Linked DNA regions of Homo sapiens: region 1 is linked to region 2. The links are contacts of gene promoters, found by promoter capture Hi-C in blood cells and fetal thymus (Javierre and others, 2016). All regions are on one chromosome and are shown on one strand. The core of a region is centred on a gene start or on the middle of the fragment in contact, and the rest is flanking DNA. Distances in the headings are between cores, read along the strand shown.

The links. The method cuts DNA at HindIII sites, captures the fragments that hold promoters and counts their contacts. A CHiCAGO score of 5 or more calls a contact.
Region 1: a contact is called between a fragment that was not itself captured here and the fragment with the promoter of GDPD2 in region 2, in 1 of 17 cell types (naive CD4 T cells). The highest score is 7.2, in naive CD4 T cells.

Annotation. Positions count from the first base shown.
Region 1 is chrX:69,494,740-69,499,245 of GRCh38, forward strand. No RefSeq gene overlaps it. Among named protein-coding and RNA genes, the nearest start is that of NALF2, 7.3 kb to the right of the region's middle. The HindIII fragment of the contact is 167 bases long and covers 2,489-2,655 here.
Region 2 is chrX:70,420,203-70,424,770 of GRCh38, forward strand. It overlaps GDPD2 (glycerophosphodiester phosphodiesterase domain containing 2), which reads left to right and starts at 3,112. Exons shown (of 16, transcript NM_017711.4): 1 at 3,112-3,180. It overlaps KIF4A (kinesin family member 4A), which reads left to right. Exons shown (of 31, transcript NM_012310.5): 31 at 1-684. The coding sequence ends at 63. RefSeq lists enhancers at 2,078-3,066, 3,067-4,055. The HindIII fragment of the contact is 11,609 bases long and covers 1,084-4,568 here.

The DNA of each region.
Region 1 (4,506 bases), core at 1,322-3,821, 930 kb before region 2:
GAGGGAGATCATCTCCCTCTAATCCCCCCACCCACATTTCACCCAACCCATCCCTGAAGCAAGGGCATGCAGGCCTCTTTTCTCTGCATGAGGAATCTGTATTTCAGAGGATGTTCACCCTGGGGAATGAGGAGGAGCACCCAACCCACAAGCCTTTGCTATACATAGAAATCTTCCCCTCTGGGAGTTTCCTCCCAGCAGATAACCAGACTTAATAACCTGCTGGTGAATGTGTCTCAGGCAGCATAAAAGAATAGAAAGACATCATGAGAGAAGAAAAAGGGAGGGCTTATTCTCTCCAACAAAGAACAGTTCAGGGAGGTCTAATATGTACTGAGGACCATATATAAGACACTTTAAGGTCATCATGACATTTTTTCTGCACAACAACCTTACGAAGTAACTATTTCTCCCCGTTTTTTTAACTGATAGGAAAACTGGCTCTGATTCTTTGTGCTCAGAAGTGCTAGGCTGGGTTGTAAACCCAGGCCTGCCTGATTCCAAAGTTAATGCTGTTTTAAAATACCAAAGTGCTGATTTATGAAGAGAGTGGGAGCTGATTGAGGCAACTGCGAGATCACTGGACCAGGACCCAAGCCACAGGAGGAGAACCACAGATCCTCCAGCAGACAGGACAGCCACAAAGCTGAAGTGCTTTGGCTTTGTGGAGGGCATATGCCAGAGTATTGCCCTCCCTCCAACACAGAGGCAGTAGAGGAGCAGGTTGTTGGAGAAGCCCCCAAGCCAGGGAAACCCAGGTTTTCCTTGGGCCCAAAGTCCCAGGTCACACATGGGTCAGTGTCCAAGGTGACTTGGACTCTAGTGCTCTGCCCAGATTTACTGCCTCAAGACCTCTACTCAGCTTCCTTCTATACTTAGCTCTACTGATAACAGGAGATGAGTCTGACCGTGACTTCACACTGAGTTGTGGAGGATGGAGCTCCTTCCTTACGCCCTGGCCCTAACTTTCACCACTTTCAGGAGGCAGTTGCCTCCAATGTGATGAGGCAGGAAGCTACAGAGAGGGGCTTTCTGGCCTTGACAAGCAATCTGCACCAGATCCAGGACCAGGAGCCTTTTGGCCAAGGCCTTGCCCTGCCTGGGAAGCAGACTCCAGAGAGGATCTGAAGAGCAGTGCTAGAGGGGTCCCATCTACCCATTACCAGATGGAAAATCTACCTCTATCTTGACAGGTATGTCTCATGTTCACCCATTAAAAAGTACTCAGTGAAGAAAGAAGCTGCTTCCCTTGAAAGGAGAAACTCATAGCACTGAAGAGAGAATCTATGGAAGAAGCAGCTCTAGTTTTCCCCCAACTCTGACCCTTTGAATTTCTCCTTTCCCCTTAGGGCCCTAGGTCTCCGTCTGATCTCACCATCATCACTTCCTTGGTAAAACAGAACCTGGGGGCTCCCAGGTTGAAGCAACGAATATCTTGGGGAGGAGGCATGCAGGAGAGAAGCTCTCATTCCCAGTACCCCCACAGTGAACTCCATGGTAGGGCTTGGCCTCTTTCTTTTTGCCCCTGCTGCCACATACTACATGCCCCAGCGATGTGTCACTCTCTTTTTAAGACTCTGGCCTGAGAGAGGCACAAAGCCTATCCTTGGCTTTCCCTGGGCACAGTAGAGTGAGCAGGAAGCAACTGCACAAAGAACTTTCTGAAGCAGTCTGGGAGAAGGAGAGGGACATGCCAGAAACCCAAACAGTCCAGCTTTCACAGCACATGTCTCAGAGCCAACCACAGCCAAGTTTTCTCTGAGACTCACACATTCTGTCTGTACTATATTCAGGCTCCAAAGCAGCAGAAGGCTGGCTCCTTCCCTCTCCATTCCTGACCTGTGCTCACAGGGTAGGCACCTCTTACCTCCAACCTCAGGGGGCAAGTGTTTGAGGGCTGGGTTCCCTCCCTGGCCAGTACTACAGAAACCTGCGTCACAGTCTTCTTGGAGTCCTCCCCCTCAGCTCTGGTTCCCTCTCTGAAGAATGCATTTCTTTTCCAGGTGATCCTTAGGACTCAGTTGTTGATTGATACCATTTATTAACTGACAGTTCAAGTGAGTGCCAACCCCCTACGTTGAGGGGTTTGGCTATGACCTTTATAGGCCCCACAGTCTGACAACACTGTAGCCCTATGAGACCTTTAACATCCAAATATCAAGAGTTACCCACACATGTACAACAAGGGTCTGATTTCATCAGAGTTGGCATCTTAATTCTCTGTACTGTGAAGTGTGGGGACTTGCATTCAGCCCAAAACAATAACCTTTATTAAAAACTCTTTGGATATACCTGAACCACTGTACTTTCATCCTTGCTATGAGAGGCATAAGAAATAGCTTTCAATTTAAGCAGGAAAAATGAAAATTGGAAACAAGATTTCCAGTGAATCTTGAAACTGAGAGAGCTTTGAAAATTAAAGACCCTCTACCTATGGCAATCTTTAACATAGGAAAAAATGGTCCTCCAAAGTATAAACTAGAAGAGAAGCTTTTGTGGGAAGGAAAGAAATGAATGAGGTAATCTCAATGTGACTAAAATCCTAAAGTGCTTTTCTCCATGGCTTTTCCATCCTAGAGGGTGTCTGAATTCCCTTTGCTCAAGCCACCCTCTCTATGCATCAAATCATAGAATCACAAAACCTTGGATGTCAAAAGCTTTAGAGATCATCTTGTGGCTATATCACCATAAGCAGTCATTCAACTTCTCCTTAGATATCTGCTTGAAGATACCTTCATTGAGAGGAATTCATTATCTCTGGAGGCAGACATGAGAGAATAACCTTCTGTTTCTACATGGTGTGGGTCATGTTTGGTATTAAAACACAGTCATGCTAGCAGATTCATTAAGGTAAAGCCATACTCCTCTAATGGAATTGGGATGGTCTCACTTTCTCACTTGAAATGTTTATTAATTAATTAATTCTAAATACGGAGCATCTATGTGCTAGGCATTGTGTTTGCAGCTAGAGAAACAAGGAGGAACAAAAACAGACATGGTTCCTGTTCTGAAGGATTCTGGAGTGTAGTGGGAGAGACAGTGATTAACCAAGGAATCACGCAAATAAGGGTGTAAATGCATCTAAGATAAGTGCTATGAAGAAAGGAAGACAGTTCTACAAGGGATCTAACAAGGGAACCTGACCTAGCCTGCAGGAACTAGTCAAGGAAATCTTCCCTGAGGAAGTGATGCTGGAACTGGAATCTGAGTATTAAGTAGGATTAGCCAGGCAAAGTGGCTAGAGGTAGGGAGTAAAGAGAGTGTTTCAGGCAAAAGAAACAGCATGTGCAAAGCTCCTGTGGCCAAAAAGACATGGCATTTGGAACTCAAAGGTGGCCAGTGTGGGCCAGGCATGGTGGCTCACACCTGCAATTCCAGAACTTTGGGAGGCCTAGGCAGGAGGATCACTTGAGGCCATTCTCAGGTATTCTGTTAGAGCAACACAAAATGGACTAAGACATAAGATTATTGGCTAAGAGTGAGAGGGTGGACACAGGGGTTGGAGGTTTAAGAAAAGAATGGAGAAGATTTGAAATAGTCATCCTGGAGAATGAAAAGTACTAAAGAAATTTAGTACCTGTTTGGATTGTGAAGCAATGTTGAAGGCTTGATTGAGATTGGTGATTTATAGTGGAGCAGGTCCCGTTTGTGACAATGGAGGTGGGTGGCTGAGGTAGAGTGGAAGAGATGGGGCAGTTTAGGAACCGGGAAGCCCAGGTGATGGCTGAATTTTAATTTGTATACTGAAGTCCCCTAGGATGATGGCGGGCCTTGCAGTCAGGGGTGGGGAAGCCAGTGAGACAGAAACCAAATCCTTCATTTGGTTTCAGTAGCTGCAGGGTCTGTACACTCCAAGCTCTGGAGTAGTGGTGAGCCTAGAGGTAGCCATCTAGGTACCTTTGTGGCCTAGAGTGGGATGGATCCTAGGGTGAGGCCACTCTGTCAACTTAGGGATAAGGTCAGATTCCTCATATTAGAAAGTAAAAGTGAAAGGGCCCAAGGTGGGTTAAAATGTGAACATTTACTTCTCTTGGTTTTGACTGAGAAGATATTAAAATATCTAGGAGGAATCTCCTGGGTTTAAGTCCATGTCCCAGCCCCATCTATCCCAGCTCACCCACAGCTGCCAAACAATCAAGAAGTTGAAAATGTTATTTGGTGTTTGAATCTTGGCAATTACCCAGAATCACTAAGTTTATTCTGAGAAGAGATCAAGTAGTCATGAACTCCGGAACCAGACTGCATATACTCAAATTCTCCCTTCGCCACTTGCCAACTGCATGACCTTAGACAAGTGACTTAACCTGTCTGTACCTCAGTGTCTAGAAAATAGAGACAACGGTAGATCTACCCCACATAATTGTTGTCATAGAGGGTTAAGTGGCTTAAAATATGTAAATGCTTAGAATAGTACCTGGTGCATGTTAAGCACTATGTAACTGTTCATTTTTATTGTTATTGACTCTCTCCCAATTCACTCAATGTCTCTCTCATTCACTCAATCAC
Region 2 (4,568 bases), core at 1,862-4,361:
GCTCTGGCCAGCAACACCAGCTTCTTCTCTGGCTGCTCCCCTATCGAAGAAGAGGCCCACTGAAGTTGGAGTCATCATCTCTACCCCCAGTCTGGCTTGGGAGATGCTTTCAGGTTGCAGCCAGAAGGGGTTTTTTAAATGACTTCTCTGGATTTCAGGTTTCTTGCTGTTGAAAAAAGGAACAAAGCGTTACTGAAAAGAAGGTAACCTTTGTTGGATGTGGGCCTTAGCCTCCAGGTCCAGACTACTACTCTATGTTCTCCAGAAGGGTGCTAAGTCACCTACTGAAGAGAGAACCAACTGACTTTCCTATTGACTCATCAGGAACCAGTCCTCAGTCTGGTCAAGTTGTTTCTTATTTGTGAGCAGTTCAGGCTATCTCCTGATGGGGATGAGGCCAAGGCTTTCTTATCTTTTGGTTGTCTCTGCTTAATGGAGGAGCCTGGCCTAGGATGGAGGCCTGGCTTAGATCTTTCATTCCACCTCAGGAATGAGGTTGTGATCTTTCCTGTCCTGACCCTCTCTGAATTATGTTTCAATAGTACTCTTGATTGTCTGCCATGTTGTTGAAGCAAATGAATTATTTTTAAATGTTAAGTAAGTAAATAAACCTTAGCCCGTCTACTGTTTGGGAAGATCCTTCTGTGCTAGAGGGAGAAATAAAATTTCAACCTGTGTTCCTCAGCCCCTGAGGAAGCTATTAAGGGGATTCATTACAAGTACCTGAGCCTCCCTGCCTTATTGTAGCTGCCCTCTTTCCCAGAGGGTATTGTGGAGTGTGATGTGTCTTTATGTTGCTCTGCTACCCTAGGAAATCAGAATCGCGTTAGCAAGGCCAGTGGCCTGACCTCCACTGTAGAACCTGCCTGGCTTCCAGATTTGGGAGGAAGAAACCGCATTTACTAACCATCTCCATGTTCTTGCTACAGTTTTATTTGTTCTTCATACACACACAAAAAGGTCAACATAGATAGATGTCCTTATTTTGCAGATGAGGAAACTGGGGTATAAAGAAGTAACTTACCCAAAGTCACAAAGCTAGTGAGCAATAGAGCTAGGACCTGAACGCAGAGCTACCATCCAAGCTTCACTCTAGCCAACTCTCTAGAGTGCCAGCAGCAGCCACTTCTAATGCCCTGCAGCCTAATTTCTTAGTGTAGGAGGGGCGTTGCACCACACTGCTGTCCAGTCCCAGGACAGAACAGCACTGGCTCCTTGCATTCTCCTTTGAAAGATGCTTACGCCTTACAGTCTATCAGTGTTCTCTATCTCTGCTTAAAGCTAAAAGGGGGCCAGCCCTGGAATGCCATACACAAGCTGCTGACTGGCCTTGTAGCCTTCTGAGGTAGATGCTCACAAGCCCTGCGCTTCATATCCATGCATTCTGAATCCCAAAACCCTTCTCCCCAAAAAAGCTCCCAAACCATCCCCAAACACTCAAAAGCCAAGACTCCTCTAGAATCCACCAGAGCCCAAGCAAAAGAAATTGAGCAACAATCTGCCTAGAATGAAGCCTGCCATGGACTAGGTGACCTGCTGGTCCTCCCTGGCCTCCTGCCAGCAAGCAGCCCTGCTTCTCTTTGCATTTTAATGCCGAGGGAGCAAGGGAGCCTCTGCCATTGCCAACTAGAGCCTCTGGATACAATGGGAAGCCTGAGTGGGAGGGGGGCCAGCTCTTGGCATAAGAGAGCCAGTCTTCCTTCTCACTGTTTGAAATCCAGTGTGTGTTGGGGGAGGGGTAAGCAGGCTTATCCCCAGAGAAAACATCCTTTCCCACCAACACTGCACTAATAGCCCCCAGACCTCGAGTCACCACATCAGGCGTAATGTAGAGGGAGAGGTCAACCAAGCCAGCCCCTGGCCCCCATCCCACCCAGACCCCTGTGCTTTAGCACTAAGCAAACTATAGTGTGCTAGCCAGCCCTTCCCTGCTGATGCTGATGCTATAGTAACAGCATCTTTTCTATGTGTTCATCTTCCAAAAGCCTGTGACCCCAATATACTCTACACTCCTCAAAAGATTCTTGGAAAGAGACTCATATGCCTTAGGGACAAGGCAGCAGAAATGACACAAGTCCTGAATGAGCATCTCCTGTCTGGGGTGATGAGGGAAGGTGGGAGAACTGCTAGTGTCACCCAGGATCCACAAGGCCCATGGGGACCTCTGGTCCAGAAACGGCAACTTGCTATCCAGAGTTCAGGAAGTAGCTTGCAGCTTCTGTTGCCCAGGCTGGAGCACAGTAGCACAATCTCAACTCACTGCAGCCTCGACGTCCTGGGCTCAAGCAATCCTCCCACATCAGCCTCCCAAGTAGCTGGGACAAATGACCAAGGCTTGTCTTTGCTTTAAACCTGGCCTTGTGAGATGTCCCATGCAACTACCTAGTCTTTGGTAGGTGCACACCATCATGCCTGGCTAATTTTTGTATTTTTTGTAGAGACAGGGTTTCACCATGTTGGCCAGGCTGGTCTTGAACTCCTGACCTCAGGTGATCCACCCGCCTCGGCCTCCCAAAGTGTTGGGGTTACAGGTGTAAGACACCGCGCCAGGCTGCAGCTTCTTATACATGCACCTTGCTGAATTAGAAGTAGGAGCTCAATAGGGGAGGGAGCCTAATGAATCAAGGCTGTATTTCCAGGGAGCTTGAGACTTGATGTTAGGCTTACACACACGCACACACACACACACACACACGCCTTTCCAGTGGGCTGGCTGGGCCTCTTCTCCTCACTGCCAAGTTGCAAAGTTGTGTGGTCACCTCCCCCCCCCACACACACCAGCTTCCCGCCAGCCTGTGCCCTCAGCCCTCGCCTCCCTGAGCCAGGACAAAGCCCCGGCAGTGACTGGGAGGGGAACAGGAGGAGGGACAGAGGGATGGGAAAGCCTGCACAAAGGAATTCCTCACCCCAAGCCCCCTGACCGCCAGCGAGTAAAGAAGCAGATTTGCTCTCCCTCCCGCTTCCTCCCTCCCATCTTCCCACCCGGGCTGTGCCCAGGCCACAGAGCAGCTGCAGGCCTTGGGAGAGGACCCACACAGCCTCCTGTAGGTGGCAACAGTGCCACCTGTTTGACTCATAGGGCTGAACCGAGGACTGAAAAAGGGAGGAGGCAGACCACTCGGAGAGGAGCTGGGAAGCAGTGCAGAGAGGAGAGCGGAGCGGAGCTGCCGCTGAGCAAAGGTGTGAGGGTTCGGGAAGGCTGGGGGGCTACAGGTGGGAGCTGTGGAGCAGAGACCAGCTCCATCCCACTGGGATTGGGCCGGGGGATTGAATGGCACCCCTGTCAGCAACCCTACTTGGGGTTTTCAGGCTGCTCAGACCCTGATCCCATCCTACAGGCAGCTCCTGAAGGGAGGGGACTCTGGAAGGCAGTGTCTGGGGTGCAGGGGTAGGACCCCAGGGGAGGCAAGAGCTTAGAGCAGGCTATCAAACCAGCTCCAAGATGGGCAGAGGCAAGGGCTTCCCTTTGGGTTGGCTTTTTACCGGGAAGGGTCTCGTAGAGGGGAGGGGTTTCCTTCCCCCAGCTCCAGCTCCTCACCCCTACCCTAACCCTCCTTTCCCAAGGCAGCATAAAGAGGGCAGTTCAGAAGCAGCCACACCTTCCTGCTTACCGGACCCACCCACTGTGCACCCCTCTAAGACTCCATAGCCTCGGGAGAGCTCTGAGGACAAGAGGTCCTGTCCCTCAGCCCGCACGCACACATGCTCACACACTTTGGGTGTATCCAGGGGCTCCTTTACATACTCAAAGTCACCTAAAATCATATTGTACCGACAGCCAGTTGTGCTGTCGCGTGCAAATGCTGACACAAATCACATACCGTCTCGCGTAGAATCAGTCACGTACCCAGCCAAGTCTGGGGATCAGCTCAGTCAGCCAAACCCAGAAGCATAAGGTACAGGGGTCCCCTGCCCCAAGACAACCACACCCCGCATACACACCTTTGCCCTGCGTTTGTTGTACTTTCACCAAAGCTAACTTAGAGGGTGGGGCTCCTAAAGGCGAGTCTGGGCTTCTGGTTGGGGTTGGGGGATGACTGGGCAGGAAAGGGCAGGACTTGAGGGGAGGCTCTGTATTTTGAAAATCCAAAGATTCCTTTAGAAGACTGGGAGTGACCCAGGCAACATGTTCACCTCAAGTCTTTCTCTTTTTGGCAGTGCCCTTTGTCCCCTGAGAGGTGGACACAGAGAATCTTTCAGGGATTTGTGATCTGAATAATCTCTATAACCATAGCAACTGGCCAACTAGCTGGGCCTTCCTTAGCCCCAGGTCAGAACTGTAACCTTTGCTTCAGGTTACTCCTGCTTCCTGGGCTGGAAAGCAATTCAACATGGGGTTGCCTCCAGCTTGGCCAAACCTGCTTTAACTTGCTGAACTGAGTTTGTCCCACCCTGGGCAGTTTCTCTTGAGTTCTTACCCCCAGGGCAAGCACTCCATCCCCAGAGGTGTGTGCTGTTAAATGGGGAGGAGCTGGAGAGAGTGGATATGAATCCTGCCCGAAAAGAGGCTGGACCTCTTGGGTGTCCCACTGACTCTCCAGGTAACAAGATTAAAGGGAAACGAAGGC